Linked DNA regions of Homo sapiens: region 1 is linked to region 2. Evidence: promoter capture Hi-C in human tissues and cell types (Jung and others, 2019). All regions are on one chromosome and are shown on one strand. Each heading gives the region's core, a stretch centred on a gene start or on the middle of the fragment in contact. The rest is flanking DNA. Distances are from core to core; before and after follow the strand shown. Region 1 overlaps MIR4500HG (MIR4500 host gene). Region 2 holds the start of SLITRK5 (SLIT and NTRK like family member 5).

Region 1 (6,157 bases), core at 237-2,736, 91 kb before region 2:
ATCTTAGAACCCAGACACTTTGTTTTCCTTCTTTGGTGGCCTGAAAGCAAAACTATTTTCAAATATTATTTTTAAAAATGTTCAGAAAGTTTTAGAGCTTTGATATTCTTTGGTAATAGTTAAACTTTTCTAATGTTGTTCAGAATTCCCTTAATCCTTTGTCTGATGCCAACATGCAGTGGAAATTTGTTGTAGCTCTTTAGCATCGCTACATAACTCAAGTGGGTTTACCTGTAATCATCTGCGATTGTATGCTACAATACACTGCTATCGATTACTTCATCCTGCTTTATGTACTATGCTTTTCTTTTGTATTGATTCTTCCCTTTGTATTGCTTTATATGCTTTAACATGATTTAGGCTTCTCATTTCCTTATTATCCTATACTCTGAATCACCATGTTACATATTATTCTCCAAGATTCAAATCATAAGTGTGAAAAAGGTGACAAAAATAAGCAGAATGTTTCTGACTTATTAAATGTAGGTTATTAAATAATGTTTTATAGTCAAAATGCTAGAAAGCTAATTTAAAAAGCAATATATATAAAATATTCAAGCCAAAAAATAGATGCTTAATTTACTGTAAAAAATAGGAGTTTCCCATAGGGTGATTGAAGTGTTTGGGGCTACAAAAATTTAACATCTTCTGGAACTTCTGAAATAATGGTGTAATTCCTTGGCTATACATTTTTTAAATTATGCAAATATAGATCATTGAAACCATATTGTGCTTCCTATTTCTCCTGGAAGACATACCTAATCATAGTGTATCTATGGCCTAAAATATATTCTCTCCTCCATGTAGAAATATACCAGAGAAATATAAGGCACTGAAAGCTATACAAAGCGATTTATAATCTGTTCTTCTCTACAGACTCACTCCAAGGAGAATGGAATATATAATCCCAATAAGGCTAAAATAAAGCTCCATATCAAACTTCAGTAATGACTACTCTGTATGTAACTAACAGACTAAAATTCAGATATGCCTGAAGTAAAATGAACTTAAGCTTAGGGAATATAAAAACATTGAATTCTAGTTAGAAACGTTCAAATGAAGAATATGAAAAATATTCTGCCACATTCCATTTCCCCACAGTAGTAGTTCTCAACCTTTTCATATATATTCATAGATTAAACGAAGGGAATTTTAAAATACCAATGCCTGAATTCCACTCCCTTAAGATTGTTTCAATCGGTGTAGGTGGAATGTGGATATCAATATTTTTAAAAACACTACATGTGATTTTAATACGCATTCAGAGATAAGAATTACAATTTCACATTATCATTGTTTCTCAAAATATAATCCATGAATCTAGGATTCAAAAATTTATTGTGAAAAAGAGGGTAGTGAGATCCATTTAAAAGTAAGCAAACTCCAAATAGAAAGCCACATATCTTTCTTTCATTCCCTCCCTTGCTGTGACGTCACTCTGGGTAAGATATAGTTCCTCATATCTTTGATTTACGGCTCTCATTCATGAACATAATATATGCCACATCCAAGCAAAAGTTTCATATGTGTGGTGTATTATGGTCTCTTGTCTCCTTTTATTCACCAGGAAGAGATCCTGCCCCAGGTTGATCTGTCCCTTCACTCAGGTCCAGGAATGAATGATGTATAAAAAGCAACTATATCCACATCTAATGGGTCTTCAGATCTGTGCTTGAAAAATTCATGTATATTATTTTGCACTACTATAATTTTGACTCTTAAAAATGTAGCATTATCATAGCAACAGTCAAACAAGAAAGAAATTTAAAGCTTCAGACTCAAGATTCCTAAAAATATACCCTAGTCCCTGTTATGAATCTTTCAAGAAAGGACCGTATCATGCAATTTTGCAAACTTCATTTTATTACAGAATCTTTTATTTTAGGGATTGCCCCAAAAAAACTTTTTTTCAACAACGGGAAAACATGAAATGAATTGTGACTAGTTAAAAAAAATACTGTATTTATGCAACTATATTACAATCATGTCTGACTTTTTAATAGTAACCAAAATATCTATCAAATTGGAAATAAGGCCTCTATATTCTTATTATAAACAAATGAGTAATAACTAATGCTTTTGTTAAAATAGGGGAAAATGTTGAGTACAGAATGGTAGAGATATGAGCATCAAAACGTCCATAGGCCAGATCTTGGGCTGCTGGTTCAAACCTCAATAAGGAAAAGACAAGTAATCTAAGTTTCAAAAAGTAACTTAACTGAGGCATCTTTTACATATCATATAATTCATCCATTTCAAGTGTAGAATTCAATGATATTTTAGTAAATTTACCAAGCTTTGAAACCATTGCCATAAATCAGTTTTTGAATGTTTCATCACTTCACTGAGATACTATATGCACATTAACTGTCGCTGTCCCTCTCCACAGTTCAAGTCATTCACCAGTCTATCTCTAAAGATTTGTCTTTTCTGGACATTTTGTATAAATGGAATCTTACAGTATGTGGTTTCTGGTACCTGGCTTCTTTCAGTGTGTATAAAACTATGAGGTTCATCCACATAGTAGTATGTATCTACAGTTTGTTCTTTTTTATAGCTAAGTGGTATTCTATCATATGGATAGATGGTTTTTTTTAATGCATTTATTCATTCATCCACCATTTATCAAGGGCCTTTTTCAGGCAAAGCTCTGAGCCAGGCATGGCACGCAACTAAAATATACACAAAAAAGTGTGTTTGTGCTTTCAAATAACTTAGGTAAGAAAATCAGGTACATAGCTTCATACATAAGAGTTCTCTAATTTTGTGAATTCATTCACCAGGTGACACATGATTAGATTGTTTCCACTGTAGGGCCAGTGTGTGTGGATATATGTTTTCATTTATCTTAGGTAGATAACTAACAGTAAATTTGCTGGATTGAGAAGTAGTGTAACTTTACAGTGTTTTCACCCCTTGGAAAACACAAACACTATATACAGAAAATAGCATGATAATGGCTATGATAGTATTACACATTAAATTTGATGGAAGCAAGATTGGGCTGGAGGAAAAAGTAACACGAATAGAAAGTGTGGATAGGTAAGGAAACAGAGTAAGGTTTTTCTAAATCAGTGATGACAAAAAGAGAAAAGACATAATTTTAAAACAGCATGATGAATACCTCAAAGAAAGGCGATACACCAAGAGATCAGGTAATGGGAGTTTGGCCTCTGCTCATGGTTATGCAGTTTGTAAAACTGGCCCAATTCCTGGAACTTAACAGAGGGCTGAATCTGGCCCAGAGAAGTAATATGTAATTCTCTTTCCTTTTCTCTTTTCTTTTTCTTTTCTTTCTCTTTCTTTTTTTTCTTTCTCTTTCTTTCTCTTTCTCTCTTCTTTCTTTGTTTCTTTCTTTTTCTTTTTTTCTTTCTTCTCTTTCTCTTTCTTCCTCTCTCTCTTCCTCCCTTCCCTTCCCTTTCCTTCCTCTCTTTTTCTTTTACTTTCCTTTCTTCTTTTTCTTTCCTTTCTTTTCTTTCTTTCTCTTTCTTTTTCTTTCTCTTTCTTTCCTTCCTTCCTTCCTTTCTTTCTCTCTTTCTTCTTTCTCTCTTTCTCTCTTTCTTTCTTTCTTTCTTTCTTTCTTTCCAAAAAGGTACTATCAAATATACCGATGTCTACTTGTGGCATCTTTTAAAAATCATCTGTTGAGGCTAAATGATACCTTTTTACAGATTTGCACAAGGATATTATATAGTTTAGCTGCGCTTCCTAGTCTAGAAAGATTTCTATGTCATTAAAAGGACTTTTAATGTTCTAATTTAATGCTTTCCACATTTATCCATGTCAAGCAATCTTCAGAAAGTTAGGAAGCTTGCATAATGCACTAAGGTAAGCACTAAGCTTTTCTTAGCTGAGGCACTACAGCAACCATGGGACCCTTGCTGTGGCCCTGAGAGGGGAGGACATCAATATCTAATCACACTTGTCACCCCTTTGTGAAGAATGTTGAATCAAGAAAGGGAGAGTCATTGATAGATAGGTTTTAAAAAATATTTCTCAGAAATTGAGTAGCATGTTCAGTTGAGGCACTCTGGCCACAGGCTAGAGGACAGGTATGAGTCTGGCAGGACATGAGAGAAGAAAAAGAATCAAGAGATTAAGCCAGCAATCCAGGAAAGACAATGATAAGCATCTGCCCTGAACAAAAGTGTGGGAAAGAAAAATAAAGACTGAATTTAAGAACCATTGAGGAGGAAAATCAGCATGGCTTAATGGAGAAAGAGAGTGTGGAATGATTCATAGTTTATTTATTTCATTTAATAGCTAAGTTTAGGAGGGACACCTTCACTGAGATATAAAATGGAGGAGAATAAAACACATTTGAAAGTATAGCTTGGATGATAAATATTACAATGCATAGTAAAAGAACACTGTGTCCATCAAGACAATTAAAATATTAATTTATGTGCAATTATAATTTAGGAATTCTAAAACATAAAAAATGGAGTCAATATTGTCTAGAATATTATGTATTACAGAGATAACACATTGAAATAAATTAGAATTTATTAATAATAAAAGAGGAAATAATCAGTACCTACGTATGGCATCCATGTATACATTGAATCATATTGGATACAGAGGCTAAATAGAAAAATTATAAAAATAGCACAATTCATACAAAAATACATGAAATGTATAGAGAGATATACAATACACACTCTTAACAAGAATTGATGGGTAATTTAAAGAGCTGGTTGAATAAAAAGAAGAAAATTTTAAACCAAATACTTTCAAAAATCTAATAAGAATAAAAATGGTAAACATTTGTAAAACACTTCGCTGTATCCTAAAGTCTCCCTCTAAACAAATGCACATAATCTTATATTGCAAGGCTAAAACACTGACCTTATTAACAAGACCATCTTTCTAAGACAACAGCCACAATGAAACTTCACAAAGTTTTGCTAAAGGTCATCTGGAAGAAGCATGTGGAAATACACAAAATATTTTTTCAAAAATAGATGACATGAGGTAAGATTACTTGCTCTTGTGAGTTATTTAAATACATGTACTATAACAATGTTCTTAATATATTAAATGATACTTTTCCATCCCAGGTATGAGTATGATAAAGAAGTGTAAAAACTAAAGTATTTACAAGTCTCTGTCTTTGAATCTTCAAAATCCAAAATTATCAGTAGCCAGGGGTAAAGGCTAGTATACAAAATCAATGACTGTACATCAGGTAATAATGTGTTGTTCAATTTCACCATATCATCCTTTGTGATATTTTTTAAACTATATACATCCCTTGGACTTAGCAACTGACATGGAGATGAATAAAATAAATCCTGGTTTTACTTAAGTAAATTACTGTGGAAAAATAAGGAAATAAAATAGAGTCCAATCTGGGCAAAATTGAGGTACTGGGGGAGAAAATAATTATTGGTATAAGTTACATGTGATATATTTTATTTATGTTTCCATGAGGATCTCTTTCCATTTCCATACCAAAGAGTCAGGCTACGGGGTCATTAAAAGCTCAACTTGTTTCTCTTCTTTCTCCATTTATGGTGGATCTGCTTCCTAGCTCATTTCCAACCTCGATGTGGAAACCGAGGCCCATGTTAGAGAGTTGGGCATCATTCATCCCTTTGCTTTGCACAACACTGTAATCTCCTTGTACCAGAACATGTGCTGAGCTTCTGCCTCCAGGGCAACTCCTATGATTGCATGTGATCTGGGATTCCCAGTGCTGGTTGGGCATAGCAGTGGCTTTTCCAAGGGTACTCCTAGGCAGAAAACTCCACAGACTTCTCAGTTCCTATCCCATCATTGAAACTTTAATTGAAAGCTTTCTCTTTATGTCTGCAGTCGCTGAGCATTTCTCATGATGAACAGAGACTAAGCACAAAGAGAAGGAGAAAAAAATTTAACTAATTTTTGTTTTGAGCGCATACGTAGTGAGCACATCAGAAAAAAGAATGTGAAAAGCAGCTGCCAGGAACATTTGTAAAAACATAGTCCTGTCTTCTTCTACTTTGCCTTGACTCCCATTGAACAGCAATATCTTATTTTATTCTTCCAGAAGAAAATAAATGGTGAAATTTTTGGGAGGAAAGTAACCTTTCACCTTTCATCATATCCATCACTCTTCACACTCAAAAGATGCCAATTTCTGTGGACTCAGACTCTTAGATTTTGCTCATTTTCA
Region 2 (6,116 bases), core at 676-3,175:
ATTAATAACTGAGGCTTTTCCTTATATCTATGATGTTTTCCCTCTTGTGTTTTTCTGTTCTGAACTGTTCAAGTCACAGTATTTTCTAAAATTTCATTCTCTTGCAGAGCATCTTATAGAGACACCTAGTGGCAAAAGGTAATGGTGGCTTCCGGGACCATCCTTAATGTTGAGTTAATGGCAGAAAGTTTTCATCATTTACTTATTTGAACCACAAGAGGTAAACTAGATTATTAGCATAAGTGTTTCTAACAAAACTGTAACCTAAACTAATTCCAAACATATTTAATACTTCTTAGTTGAATAATATTTCCTTTAATTAGAACAATAAATATTTAAAATAAAAATAATACAAAACCATGAATTAAACTTTGCTATTGAATGAAATTATAAAGATTTAGAACAGTGATAAAATATAACAGCTTTATTTCAGCTATTTTGAAAAAATCAATAATCGATTAAGACAATTTAGGACCTTTAAGAACTTCTACAAAGTTAATCGATATTGAAAATTATGTTTCTGATAGGACTCAATATTTATATTCCAAAGGCTTCTGGCTGTAATTCCTATATAATTTTAAATTTAAATATTTCATTTCATTTTGAAAATATAAAAGTAATTTTAAACTTAAAATAAATTTTCTGAAATGTTTATATAATGTTAAAAGTTAATGACTGAATAAAAAATACAGAAATAAGCCTTTTGTGGATGACGTGTAAGTTATATTTGTTGATGCAATGTATCTACAGCTAGTGGCTATCATTCCTAGGTCAAATGCTTCTAAATTTAATGAAACGTTCATTACAAGATTTTGTTTTTATTGTCTGAAATTACATATTACTTCTTTCCTTCCTCTCCCTTGAATATAACCCATACTTAAACAAAATTGCTTCCAAATAAAGTTTTTATGGTATAAAGTAAAAATATATATATTCACACAACATACGCAGGGGAAAGTTCAAAAAAGATTGCAGTACCTCAGGAGACTGCAATGTTCATCACCTGAGATATATATACATCTCAGAACATAGACATATTATCAGACTCTATATCAATATTAAACATATGATTAACCAGATTATAACACAGTATTATCCCAAATATTACTAAGAATAAAACAATATCAATAATAATTAAGACGTAATTAATTGCAAAATAAAGTGGGTAAAATATATTTACATGGAGAAACTAACTACATAGTTATCAAAGGAACAGGCACATGTGCACTCAGCCTGCACTGGGTCACTTACTATTATCAACTTTTCTCTTATACCCGGGATGAACGGCAGGTCTAATATTACAAATATTGAAAACATGTCTTATGAAAGTAAAGACCCCTTTTTGGGGATGGAAGTGTCTGGTTTCATGGAAAGACCCAAGAATACTTACTGTAGAGATGACTCTAGTGGAGTTTAGCAGATGACTCTTCAAGAAACTCGCTTTCTATCGATATTGCATTTACTTAGGGGTTTTCCAGCTTTTTAGTACACACCAGATGTATTCACAAACATTCCCTCTGAAAGTCTTTCACATTCCCTTGTGTTGCCTAGACACACCTATAAAACGTAATTCTATTAAAGAGAAAAGAAAAGTAGCGCCCTTGTTTGCAGCTAGGAGGAACCACTCCCTTTTCCAGGATCCTTAACAGTAAGTACACGAGACAGCAGCATTCTGAATGGCAGGAGGAAGGCAGGCGATCAGCACAGGGCTGGAATCATCTGTTCCTGACCACCAGCAAGCCTGGCACTGCCGGGGTTATTTCCACTCCTCCCTTTCCCAATCCGAGAATTGCACAGTCCCACGCTCGAATTACACACATGGTCCAAGACTTCTCTCTCTTCCTACGAATGTGACATCCAAGGGGGCCCCGGTTGCGCCGCCCTAGCCCAGGGACGCCTTCGCCCTCGGCTGCCATCTATCGGCCACCGAGCGCCCGCTTCGCCCCGGGCCCATCATGTCTGCTGCAGCTTGGCTCGCACCAGAGGCGCGACAATAAACAAGTGCACTGGACTGGGCCCTGCACCCGCTCCGGAGCAGCTGTCTCAGAGACCCGGTGTTGCTTACCGCGTTGCCACCTCCTCGGCGCCCGGGAGGAAGACGCAACTTTCTCGGAGTTTTTTTTAGAGCCACCGGGCTGCCAGGACAAGCCACAGGCATAGAACGACGCGGTTGCTGCCCGCCCCCCCCTTCCCCCAGAAACCCCAAAGGATGTCGGTGATAGAGAGTTCCAACTAATGACGATTGTGCGCCGCATCTGGGGAAGGGATACAGAAAAAAACCCTGCAAACACCGTGAGGATGAAACTGCCAAAGGGATGCAAGAGCCTCTCAAATACTAATTAGGGGCCGCGGCGGCGGCGGGCTCGGCGCGGAGACAGCGTCGGCGGGATCCCAGCGCGGTGGTCGCCGCTGCGCTGGGGGGCGGAGGACAGCGCAGGAGCTGCAGCCGCCGCCTTCGCTGGAGCAGCCGAGGGGCCGGTGCCACCTTTGCTCGCCCCCTCACTACCATGTACAGTGTGCGCTGCAAGAAGAAGGCGGGAGATGCATGCACACCCCCGCGACCCGCTCCCTCTGGCTCGTCCCCCGGCGTGCGCCACTGACCAGGGGGGAATGTGGTGAAGACGGCGAGGAGGAGAGCCGAGGGGGGAGGGGAGGGCCGGCCGGCGCGAACCCAGGCCGGAGGGTGCGAGGAGCCAGAGGAGGCTGGAGGGGGCGGCGGCCACAGCTGGGTCGGAGAAAGTTGCCCCCTATGCAGATGGCAACTGTGAGTACCCCTGTGGGGGGGAGGGTGCAGCGAAGGCTGCCAGGGACCCCGCGATCGCGCCTTAACACGTATTGGAGCGAGTGTGCGAGTGATCATGAGTGTGAGCGGGTGCGAGCGCTCGGCGGGGCTGACCGTCACGTTGGCGGGGCCGGCGGGGCCAGGCAGTCTTCTCCGCGTCCCCCTCCTCCCGCTCCGTGCCTCCCCTCCCAGCAGCTCCCCCTCCCCGCCCCGCCCGGCTCCGGCTCCCGGCCCCTACCGCGAGGCGCCTCTCCAGCCGGACCTCCGCCGCCCCCTCCCGCCGCCTCCCTATCCCGCCGCTGCAGAACGCCCCCCGCTCTCCACCCCCCAACCCTGCTGCCCGCTCCGACTACCGCGGAGAGCACCGGGGAGAGCCTTTTGGGGAGCCCCGGAACCCGCGGTCGCCACCGCGGCGGCGGCCCCAGGCTGGAGGCGTCCGGGCGCCTCTTTCCTCCAGCCTCTGGGACTGCGCTGCTCGCAGTCTCCTCGCCCTGCCTGGGCTTGAGAAACCTAGTGCATACCCCAAAGAGGGTTTTTGTGTATGTGTGTGTTTTTAAAGGGTGGCTATGATGACTGGGCCTTGGAGATGTGAGACTGGGTAAGTCTATCGTTTACTTTGCAAAAGAGGTGTGTGTGTGTGTGTGTGTGTGTGTGTGTGTGTGTGTGTGTGTGTGTGTGTGTCTATGTGGCGGGGTGGTTTTCCTTCCCTCTCCTCCCTCCCCTTCTTCCTCCGTTTTCCCTTCCTTCTCTTTGGGGCGGGGTGGGGGAGGGGGAGCCTCGCGTCCTGGAACTCCGGGTGCTTCTGCCTGGGCTGCTGCTTGAGCAGCTGTGCCCGGAGCCTCCGGTGCGGCCTGGGTGCTGGGCTCCAGTCCGAGAGGCTCCATGCTGCTTACTGCAGGGACGTACAGGGCGGTGATCCAGTATCTAAATTCTTTGGGAGAAAATGAATAGTTCCCCCGCCCCCGCCCTCCAGGAAAAAAAAAAATCTGAGAATCTGAGAATGTTCAGCGCACCCGCGAATTTGCATCGGAGGTGCGTTTCCCCGTCAGAATGTCAGCCTCCCCAGGCTCATTCAACTTTATTTTCTCAAATTTTTGGTCTCCTTTGCTAGCAAGGAGGAGGGGGAAGGGAGTGGGTTGAGAGGAAGCTCTTCGACCCTTGCTAACTAGAACTGAATTAAAGTTGTAAACGCTGGAGTTTAATACTGGCTGGACTGAATTTGCAATGGGCTTTCAGATGGGGTGGGAGGTGAATGGGGGCGGGGAAGCACAGGGAGGGAGGGGGAGGGGACCCAACCTCGCTGAATGGATGTGCGGATTTGATCCAGCGGAGAACTGAAATTTCAAGGTAAACGTTTTGCTTTCACTGGGGTGGGGATGTTTTTGCCGCTTTTAAGCCGGGAGACGTTTACCGTTGCGTTGGGAGGTCGGGGATACTTGCGAGGTTTATGCACTGTGGTTCCAATTCATCTCGACACGTCTGGGTGGCCACACGTGAATGATTCGCAGGCACACTGATACATGTGCGTTTGAATGCAGGGGCGTTTAATAACGCGGGCTGGAGTCGACTTGGGGATCAGGAGCAAGGTCTCCAGGCTTGAACCCGCTGTCTCGGAAACATCTTGGCTTTAGTTTGGAGTTGCAATTCGATATTAGACTTCGGTAGTGAGGCAAAGGCAAGGTTGACCAGAGAAAAGGCATAGGTTCCTAGAGTCCAGCATTTCTATCAAATGTCCTCCACCCCATTAACCAACGCAGCATGCGCGCGCGCGCACACACAAACACACACACACACACACACACACACACACACACGCTCATTCCATTTATGTCCTTCCTTTAAGAGTGCTGCTGTTGATCAGAAGTAGGAAGTGGAAGGAAGCCTTCAAGGGGACAAAAAGAGAGCAAGAAAAAAAAGGGGGAGGGGGTCATATTGATTCCTGTGGGAGATGAAATTCGGATATTAAACAACTGACCTAAGTCGCTTACAGTTCTTCCTCCCACCTTTCTATTTTGCCTCTTAATCAGCCCAGGCGTCCTTTCCCTGAGATTAAAAAAAAGAGAGAGGGGAGCGTTAACAATTAAATGTAATAAGCAACTCCAAAGATGGGGATGCTGTCGAGGTGGTAGTTCCGTGCAAACCTTGCTATTACCGTTGCAAATAGACGCGGAGCCCAAGGTAAGGGAGGCTTTCGTGCTGATCCTTGGTGTACTGATTCCCGGTAAGCGGTAGGAACGTCCTTTTTAAACTCTAGGCATCGGGAGGTATTCGGAGATTGCGGATACCTTCGCTGAGTTCTTTGTAATCCATCGTGCAGAACTATTTCAGTGGCTTAAAGATGCGGTTTGGTAGCGTCGCTGACATGATCAATGAGAAGTGGTCGCAGGGCGCTCTCCGGGAAGCGCTGCTAAGTGGTACCGTGCATGCAATTAGGACGCTGATGTGCTTTAATAGCGTGGTAGTGAAGTCCACCATCAAAGCAAATGCGCTCTCCTTTTTTCTCCTTACTCAAAGCTCCGGGAGACAATTGGTGATTTAAGAGCTTCTTGGGGCTCCTTTGATGCATTATATTACAGCCTTTTTGCCTCTGAAAAGTATCCTTTAGGTTCCCACCGTGGCATTTCTAGCGATGGTTTAAAATACCCCAAGTATTTTGGCTCCTTGCCTCTCTGTGAACATGAGAGACCTTCACGGTGAACTGTTAACTGAAGAGGCTCTGAAAGAAAGAAGGGGGGGTGGGGGCTGGGTATAGGTGAGGTGGGGAACCTTGTAAAATGGTGCTTCTTTTTTCTTAAATTAGAACCATGAAACTGAACTGACAGCCATTTTATGTATATTTATGGATTGGTTTTGAAAAGGGGGGGAGAAGAGAAAACTAAAATGGGACTTTATCTAACCTGCTCTTATCTTGTAAGGAGCAGCATATTTGTGGTGTGCTCATTTAAAAAAATTAATCAACCTTTAAATCAAAATGTATAATAGATTTTAATAAAATCTAGAGAATGTCAATGTTTCACTTGGGGAGGTGTGTCATTTGTATCTCTTCCTTTTGGGTTTTAGAGTAATAATGTTAAGAAAGAGAGAGACTTTCTGACTGATCCCTTAAATTTTTGTCATATTCTGTTATTTCCTTGTTTTCTCTCTCCCTTACAGGAGGTAAAATGCACACTTGCTGCCCCCCAGTAACTTTGGAACAGGACCTTCACAGAAAAATGCATAGCTGGATGCTGCAGACTCTAGCGTTTGCTGTAACATCTCTCGTCCTTTCGTGTGCAGAAACCATCGATTATTATGGGGAAATCTGTGACAATGCATGTCCTTGTGAGGAAAAGGA

The links. The method cuts DNA at HindIII sites, captures the fragments that hold promoters and counts their contacts. A contact is called where the count stands out against the background at its distance.
Region 1: a contact is called between a fragment that was not itself captured here and the fragment with the promoter of SLITRK5 in region 2, in 2 of the 25 tissues and cell types used here (heart left ventricle and heart right ventricle).

What each region holds. Positions count from the first base shown.
Region 1 is chr13:87,579,234-87,585,390 of GRCh38, forward strand. All of the region lies in intron 1 of MIR4500HG (MIR4500 host gene), which reads right to left. Among named protein-coding and RNA genes, the nearest start is that of MIR4500, 36 kb to the right of the region's middle. The HindIII fragment of the contact is 3,134 bases long and covers 1-3,053 here.
Region 2 is chr13:87,669,446-87,675,561 of GRCh38, forward strand. SLITRK5 (SLIT and NTRK like family member 5) reads left to right here and starts at 1,926. Exons shown (of 2, transcript NM_001384609.1): 1 at 1,926-2,764; 2 at 5,936-6,116. The coding sequence starts at 5,944. It overlaps LOC124900338 (formin-like protein 5), which reads right to left and starts at 2,922. Exons shown (of 2, transcript XM_047430855.1): 1 at 1,391-2,922. The coding sequence starts at 2,860. The coding sequence ends at 2,336. MIR4500HG (MIR4500 host gene) reads right to left here and starts at 1,518. Exons shown (of 6, transcript NR_033829.1): 1 at 1,391-1,518. RefSeq lists enhancers at 1,653-2,154, 4,579-5,778. The HindIII fragment of the contact is 26,915 bases long and covers 1-6,116 here.